Regions from separate parts of the Homo sapiens genome. Here all the other regions are linked to region 3. The links are contacts of gene promoters, found by promoter capture Hi-C in blood cells and fetal thymus (Javierre and others, 2016). All regions are on one chromosome and are shown on one strand. The core of a region is centred on a gene start or on the middle of the fragment in contact, and the rest is flanking DNA. Distances in the headings are between cores, read along the strand shown.

What was found. The method cuts DNA at HindIII sites, captures the fragments that hold promoters and counts their contacts. A CHiCAGO score of 5 or more calls a contact.
Region 1: a contact is called between a fragment that was not itself captured here and the fragment with the promoter of DNASE2B in region 3, in 1 of 17 cell types (M0 macrophages). The highest score is 5.1, in M0 macrophages.
Region 2: a contact is called between a fragment that was not itself captured here and the fragment with the promoter of DNASE2B in region 3, in 1 of 17 cell types (M2 macrophages). The highest score is 5.4, in M2 macrophages.

The regions. Positions count from the first base shown.
Region 1 is chr1:84,340,898-84,343,610 of GRCh38, reverse strand. The region is part of intron 3 of SAMD13 (sterile alpha motif domain containing 13); the gene reads right to left. Among named protein-coding and RNA genes, the nearest start is that of SAMD13, 41 kb to the right of the region's middle. The HindIII fragment of the contact is 9,729 bases long and covers 1-2,713 here.
Region 2 is chr1:84,431,060-84,434,056 of GRCh38, reverse strand. No RefSeq gene overlaps it. Among named protein-coding and RNA genes, the nearest start is that of DNASE2B, 34 kb to the right of the region's middle. The HindIII fragment of the contact is 4,985 bases long and covers 1-2,997 here.
Region 3 is chr1:84,397,112-84,400,030 of GRCh38, reverse strand. It overlaps DNASE2B (deoxyribonuclease 2 beta), which reads right to left and starts at 1,547. Exons shown (of 6, transcript NM_021233.3): 1 at 1,342-1,547. The coding sequence starts at 1,466. The HindIII fragment of the contact is 1,924 bases long and covers 760-2,683 here.

The DNA of each region.
Region 1 (2,713 bases), core at 55-2,554, 56 kb after region 3:
TTTCTGTTCTTGCATTAGTTTGCTGAGGATAATGGCTTCCAGCTCCATCCATGTCCCTGCAAATGACATGGTCTCATTCCTTTTCAGGGCTTCACAGCATTCCATGGTGTCTATGTACCACGTTTTCTTTATCCAGTCTATCATTGATGGGCATTTGGGTTAATTCCATGTCTTTGCTATTGTGAATAGTGCTGCAATGAACAGACATGTGCATGTATCTTCATGATAGAATGATTTATATTCCTTTGGGTATATACCCAGTAATGGGACTGCTGAATCAAATGGTATTCCTGATTCTAGATCTTTGAGGAATTGCCACACTGTCTTCCAAAATGGTTGAACTAATTTACATTCACACCAACAGTGTAAAAGCATTCCTATTTCTCCACAACCTTGCCAGCATCTGTTGTTTCTTGACTGTTTAATAATTGCCATTCTGACTGGTGTAAGATGGTATCTCATTGTGGTTTTGATTTGCATTTACCTAATAATCTGTGATGTTGAGTTTTTTTCATGTTTCTTGGCTGCACTAATGTCTTCTTCTGAGAAGTGTTTTTTCATGTCCTTTGCCCAGTTTTTAATGGGGTTGTTTGTTTTTTTCTTGTAAATTTGTTTAAATTCCTTGTAGATTCTGGATATTAGACCTTTGTCAGATGGAGAGATTGCAAAATTTTTCTCCCACGCTATAGGTTACCTGTTCACTCTGATGATAGTTTCTTTTGCGGTACAGAAGCTCTTTTGTTTAATTAGATCCCATTTGTCAATTTTTGCTTTTGTTGCAATTGCTTTTGATGTTTTCGTCATGAAATCTTTGTCCATGCCTATGTCCTGAATAGTATTGCCTAGATTTTCTTCTAGGGTTTTTATAGTTTGGGGTTTTACATTTAAGGTTTTAATCCATCTTGAGTTAATTTTGTATAAGGTGTAAGGAAGGGGTCTAGTTTCAGTTTTCTGCATGTGGCTAGCCAGTTCTCCCAGCACCATTTATTAAATAGAGAATCTTTTCCCCATTGCTTGTTTTTGTCAGGTTTGTCAAAGATCAGATGATTGTAGATGTGTGGTCTTATTTCTGAGTTCTCCATTCTGTTCTATTGGTCTAGGTGTCTGTTTTTATACCAATACCATGCTGTTTTGGTTACTGTGGCCTTACAGTATAGTTTTAAGTCTGGTAGCATGATGCCTCCAACTTTGTTCTTTTTGCTTAGGATTGTTTTGGCTATATGAGCTTTTTTTGATGTTGTTCTTCCATCTGAATTTTAAAATAGTTTCTTGTAATTCTGTGAAGGGTCTTTCAATGTTAGCCTTTTCAAAATTTATCTTTGGACTTAAGAACTAAACTAAGCAGCAGCATCAAAACAACAAATGCTTTTAAAAAGGGAGGTGCTGGTTGCTCTTTTTGCAGGATACGCAACTACAGATTTCCCAGGCTTCTTTGAAACTTAGTGTGGCCATGTGACTAAGCTCTGGCCAATGAGATGGGAAGGGATGATGCATGCGTCTCTCAGGCCCATAAAACTACCTGCACAGTCTTCTTATTCTTTTTCCTTATGCTAACTTATGTCAATGCCCAGATTATCTTGAAAGCTATTTAACTGATAACAAGGCCTCCTTCACCTGGGTCTTTGAATGACAGTGAAGCAGAAAATCCCCACCAGCTACCTTGGACTATCTGTATGAGCAAGAAATAAAATTCTACTATAATTAAGCCATTATATACTACTGGTAATATCTGTTGGTCTACTTTAATACACCAACCATTTCTACAATTTCCCCTTCCTTTTACAACCTCTTCTTATCATGTCATCAACCAAAAGAGTCCTATCTCTGCAACACTGAAAGCCCAATATCCTGATCTGTCTCTCACTCCTCATTCTCATTAAACCCATTTTTTTTATGTCAACTCCACTTTCTCCAGGGTTATCAGTCCCTTTCTGACTCCTCTTTCATACCAAGTCTGAACCCAATGATTGACCAGGGAGCTATTCTTTTATTAGCCCTCTATAAAGTAGCCCTCTTAAGCCATTAGCTTTTTGCAGTGTCCATCCCACAAACCCCCCATCCAGGATGAGTCCAGCAATCCAGCTTCTCTAACTCCTCTACCTAGTGCAGCTGGGGAAAAAAATCAAGGAACCATGAAGATGAAACACATCACATTTGCAGTGTACCAATCTCAGCTGGCCAGTAGAATACCTCAACTGTTCTTTTGTTATCCTTGGTCATTGCCCTCTCCCATTCCCCTTGGTGGCCATTCTTAACCTTCACTGCTGTCCTCCAGTTCCTTATTAAATCTCTACCAATCCCCATCTACCCCAAGCAGAGGAGCTTGACTCTTGTTTAGCAAAGGAAATAGAGGCTGTAAGGAACTCCCTTAATGTCCATGAAGACAAAGTGTATTAGTTAGGGTTCTCCAGAGAAACAGAACCAATGAGATACTGGTTAGATATGACCAACCTGCATGCTGGGAAAACAGGAAAGCTAGTGGTATAATTCAGTCCAAGTCTGAAAGACTGAGAATGGGAGGGTGAGGTGGGGCTGATGATATAAGTCCAGTCAGAGTCTGAAGGCCTGAGAACCAGAAGCTCTGATTTCCAAGGGCAGGAGATGATGGCTGTCTCAGGTCAAACAGAGTGATTTACCGTTTCTCCATATTTTTGTTCTATTAGGGCCATCATGGGATGAGGTGATGTTCACCCACATCAGTTAGGGCCATCTT
Region 2 (2,997 bases), core at 192-2,691, 34 kb before region 3:
TTTGTTTTAAACTGAAAAAAAGCAAAACAAAGCAAAACAAGAAAACAATATCCTGGACTTCTTGGTCAGCAGGGGGAGCACTATCACTTTGCTCCGGGAAGATTTTCACCAAGGCAACAACTGTCTTTTAATATAGACCACATCCTAGCAACGAGGAGGAAAAAAATAATGACACGATCGATACATTTGCTCCCTGGTGGTTGCAATTTTTAAACACAGCTTTTTTTTTTTAGCCTTTGTATTTGAAAAATGTTTGCTTAGGAAGGGGTCATCAGCTATCTTTTTTTTTTTTTTTCTGTCCTGCCTTTTAGTCACTTTCTAATTTGAGAGAAAGGTATTTAATTCAGAAGACAGGGTTTTAAATGTGTCGTGGAGGCTGGTGTTACAGCACCTGGTTAGTATATGGGCTATGTCTGTGTGACACAGAAATAAAGACACTGATTTGCTCATTTTATTTAAACTAGTCAATACAGTGAGAGAAATCAGTCAAACTGGATTTCTGTCTAAAGTGACCTTTTGTTTGAGTGAATTGATTCAAGGAAATTGAAATGGGGACATGGTGTCCTTCTCAGACTCAGCTGGAGCAAAGCCTATCAAGCGAGGGTGGCAGCATCGTCAACAGGGAGCATCGGGCAACCGGGCTCTCATCTGGCTTCTGCTCTGTGATCTCGGACAGAACGTTTAACTTAACTCTTTGTACCATGATTTCTTCTCTTATAAACATCTCACACTTTTATGATGAGGAAATTATAAAATGGATTTGGAAGCATCTTGAAATATCAAGAAATGTCTATATAATAATTTACACAAAAGACCTAGCTTAGCTCATATACATTCAGACATATATAAGCTATAGAGGCATATATAGTACATATATACCCTATGTGTACATATGTATATATGTGTGTATGTAGCTAAATCCACATATTTATATATATGTAAGATATATATACACACATATATAAGAGATATTATAATTATACACATAAAGGAGGTGTTTAGGTGAAGACAATTCTTTCTGAAAGTATGACAGTTTATAGTAATTTCCCCACTTACAGAATAATAATAGCTTACAGGCAGAAATAATAAAGAATCCAGGACTCTTTTGATAATCTTTTATTTCCTAAAATTCTTATTTGGTGAAGAGAAGTTTATATCACTTATTTTCCATGAACATTTTAAAAAGAAGGAATTCTAATCTGTAGATGCTGCTTTAACTAAAGCTATCCTTATCTAATAATATACCTGATTAAATACTCTGCCAGAGTATTTTTCTTTCATCTCCTTTGTACCCTGAATGGAAGCATTGCATCAAAATATTTCTACAAGCATTTTAAGAGAAATAGATGAATAAGGGGAAATCTAGTTGGCACCAAAGAAACATGCATTTTATTCACTCAGGATCTAAAATGGCTGACTCGTTCTTTTTAAGTAAATCTTTCTCTTTTTCCAAATGACAACAAATAATTTAACATGTGACATTAGGCCTTTTTTTTAAGTAATGAATTTTTAATAAACAAATGGAATGGCTTTCATTTTTAATAATATATTATTCCATTATAAAGTGCAATTTGATCTATTTGATCTGTGGCTAGTTAACTCAGAGGTTAAGAGTGAGGTGCTAATGAATTCCAAGTAATAAGTTTAATTCCTGTGAGGTTCAGGGTTACTCGATACTATGGCTACAGACATATCCCTAATCCTAAATAATCATCCATCTTAAAAATTATTATTGCTATCCAAATCTGAGACCACGCAATGTAATGTCAGGTAAATAAGGCAAAACTATTTCTACCGTTAAGAGGCAACCAAGTCCATCTGCCCACTTGTAAGTGTTTTCAGTATCATCTTGGGATAGCTCCTTCATAATTATATTTTATATTTTTGGAGTACTTAGGAAAGGTATAAGTTGGGGAATTCCAGGTATTTTAATTAAATCCTACAGGACAACTGTGGTATCATACCTGACAAAAAGCTGAAGTACAGTGAAAAATATCTAGACTGGGAACTAGACATACTGTGTTTGAATCCCAGCTCTTCCATTAATCAGCTTTGAGCACTTAGACAAGTCATTTAACCTTTCCCAGCCTTGATTTCCTCGTGAAAATGAAGACAGAAATACCTATCTTCCAGCTTACTGTAGGGTTTAAATGAATTAATATATGTAAATATATGTAAATGAGTTTTTATATATACTTAGCATGGTGCTTGGCACATAATAAGTACTTAGTAAATAGTAGCTATCTCTAGCCTTCTGATCATTATCGGAACTCCTACATAAGAGGTATTGTAAGAATTAAATGAATATTGAATATGGACCACATTTTTTTTCTTTTTGTTTTTTGAGGTGAGTCTCCCTCTCAACCAGGCTGGAGTGCAGTGGCTCGATCTCAGCTCACTGCAACCTCTGCCGCCTGGGTTCAAGCGATTCTTCTGCCTCAGCCTCCTGAGTAGCTGAAATTACAGGCATGCACCACCACGCCTGCCTCATTTTTTTGTATTTTTAGTAGAGACAGGGTTTCACCATGCTGGCCAGGCCAACTCCTGACCTCAAGTGATCCACCTACCTTGGCCTCCCAAAGTGCTGGGATTACAGGTGTGAGCCACCATGCCCGGCCCACATTCTTTCTTGAACTGAAGGTATTTTGTTTATCGGTGAGCATTAAATTCATAGTAAAATATTACTATCTCACTGGGGGCAATTATCTCTTTATTCATTAATTAAAAACTCGCATGACAAGTTATTGTGTATTATGCACAAAATATTGAGATAGGAATAACAAGGGATTTTTTTTTTAAAGTGTGAGTATGAGACTTTCACTTCTGGGTAAAATGTAGAAGTCCATGGAAGGCCAACACTCTCAGTGCAACAACTTGGGGTAACCTGGATAAATGTAGTCCCAGCTACTCGGGAGGCTGAGGCAGGAGAATGGCGTGAACCCGGGAGGCGGAGCTTGCAGTGAGCCGAGATAGTGCCACTGCACTCCAGCCTGGGCG
Region 3 (2,919 bases), core at 298-2,797:
CACCAAGTCTTCTCAGCATGTCCTTCTTTCTATTTCCATGACCGCTTCTTTAACTCAGGTCTACACCTCTTCTCACCTGTAATGCTGCAAAAGTGCTCCTGGTCTCAGTGATTCTAGGCTGCTCCCCATCCATCCAGCCCTCATAGTACTGCCAATGGGTTTCCTAAAGTGCAAATCTGACCATTCACACCCCTGCGTGAAGTCCTCCAATAGCTCCCTTTCAATGTCAAGTTCAAACCTTGTAGCTCAGCACACAGACCCCTTGGCTGTCCCCACCTCTCTAACCTCACCTCCGGTCATCTTCCTGTATTCTCCTGAAGTTCCAGCAATACCAAACTACTTTGCAACTCCCAAATTTCCATGTTGCTTCTTGCCTCTCTACCTCCTCATTGCTCCTTCATTGGCCTGAGATGCTCTTGCACATCCCTTCTTTTTCCAGCTACTTCTTAATTGTTCTTAAAACTTAGCTCAAAAATTACATCCTTAGAGAAGTTTTCTGGGCTCTCTGTTCCCCAGTGTTCCACCTATGCCCTTACCACATAACTGTGAGGTCCTTGAGGGTAGGAACCATGTTTCGTTCATATTTATATTTTCAAAACTCCACACAGACCTCTGTTGAGCTCAGTAACTGAGGAAAGACTGACTACTGCCTTGAGTATATCTGTGTTCTGTAGCCTGAAGTTTACACAAAAAGCTTGACACCAACCATTATGGCAAACCTAAATATCCCAATTAAAGGGTGAAAAAGTAGTTAAAGCTTTAGGAGAACCCATGACTATAATGCAACACAGCATTTAATGTCTTTGACACTGTACAACAGGCCAGTGGCCTACGTACCAATCATGGCAACAGCTGCCTCTGCTTCCAAACAAACCGATGTTAGGCAAACAGTGCTGTGTGTGACCAGGTCCCCCTTCTCTTTCTCATAAGGAGCAGCACATGCTCCATTTTCAGAAAAAAATAATCTGCCTTCTTTACTCTGTCAGTCTTTCAAAGGATGTTGGAAGTGTTCTGTTAGGAAAAGCCATGATGTAATTAAAAGAAATTGCCAGCTCACAGAAGCTGTCAGCTCAATCCCACTTCTGTGGCTACCAGCCTTGCCCCGCTGAGAACAGTGAATCAGGCCCAAGAGGGGCTGCTCAGCTCTTTTTCAGGGGGAAACTCCGTCACTCAGAAGCCTACCCCTGCCTGGGAGTTTGGCCGATTTGCACACTTTAACTTCCTTTATTTGTAAAGGGAGGAAAGAGAATGGACATTCCCCTTAGGAACTTCGCAGTGAGCCAGGCCAACTCTGTACCGAGGCTGTTTGCATGCAGCAGTCCTTCCATTTCATTTACCTACCAGTCCACAGCTTTCCCTTCTTCATTTCTGCATGAAATTGTTGCTGCCCCCAGCACCCCAAAGAGGCCAAGGAAGAGCAAAGCAAAGGATGTTCTTAGCAGTCTTGCCATCATTTTCTGTTTCATTTATTTCATGCCACAGCAGGACACTTTCCCCATAGATTGTGGAGTCTGAGTTTCAAGGCGCTCTCAGGCTGTGCTGGCTCTGACGTTTGATTTGATTTACCTGTGCTGTTCGCTGTTCGGGGCATTTTCAGAGTGGGATGGATCCCATGTAATTGTGCGATTCTGTCACAACATGCCAGCGTGACTCTGGATGCCTTTGTGCTGAATTGTTGACTGGTTTGCAAAGTCATCAAAAAGTTCTGCAGAAAAATAGGGAAAGATAGTTCACTCTTTGGAGTGAACATTGTTGTATGAAATTCATTGGGCAGGGGGACTTCATTTTAATAAGTAGATGTTAAATATATTTCATGTCTTCTCCTGTTTGACTCAATGAATGAGAGCAAATGCAGGTGGTTCGTACATTAAACAGAAATGATAAAACCTTATGTCTTAGTAATAATTAGGATCTGTCACTTAATAATCTCTGTCTTAAGGAACCAGTTGCTAAGGGATACTTCAAAGGGTTGCTTCAAAGTAACAGTAAATTTAACTGTATTTTACCAAAGATGTTTACATATTCTCTCCATCTTCCTGGTTTTAGCCACTCAATGTGGTGCTTCAGGCTGCTATGCAATAGGTAAACATATTGATCACCCACTCTTCAGGTTAATAAAAAATGTTACAAACATCTATTTTGCCCAAACTATGCTTTCTCATTCTCGAAGCTGAATCTGAAGTAGAAAACCAAAATAAAATGGCCCACTACCATAACAACTATAAAAAGGTGAGACCAATTTCTTTGTGAATCAGGGAAGGAGTAGATAGACATATGAAAATAATTTCTTTAATGCATACTTTTGCATCAATTATTAAAGCTGCCATCATAATAAATAGCAGTTTACATCATGCCTGGAAATAATGCTGCCCCTAATCTGTCTCTCTGATAATCACAATGATAACTATAATAGTTCCAGATCAGAGGATCCAGACCAAACTGAACCCTTGTAAATCAGATTACCTCTGTGGTTGCACTAGAACTGTTCACAATTCTCAGGATTCATAGAAAAGGGGAAGGCTTGTGTCTCTATCCTAAGACAGAGTTTTGGGAGGAGGACTCTGTACCACCTGCCCAATTACCTGTGGTGCCTGCAAAAAAGGCAGAATTCTAGGACTTATTCCAAACCTGCTACATCAGAATTCTTCCAGTTGGGCTCAAGAATCTATATTTTTAATAAGCTTATTGGTGATGCTGGTGTACCCTAAAGTTTGAAACTCACTGCCCTGAGGCCAAGACTATGCTGTATTTGGTAGATTCACAGCTTTCTGCAGGTTAAATGAAGAAATATTTTTCTTACCCATTCCTCCATTGGTATTATTATTATTATTATTTTGAGATGAAGTTTTGCTCTTGTTGCCCAGGCTGGAGTGTACCCACCTCGGCCTGGGAATCCATCCACCTCGGCCTCCCAAAGTG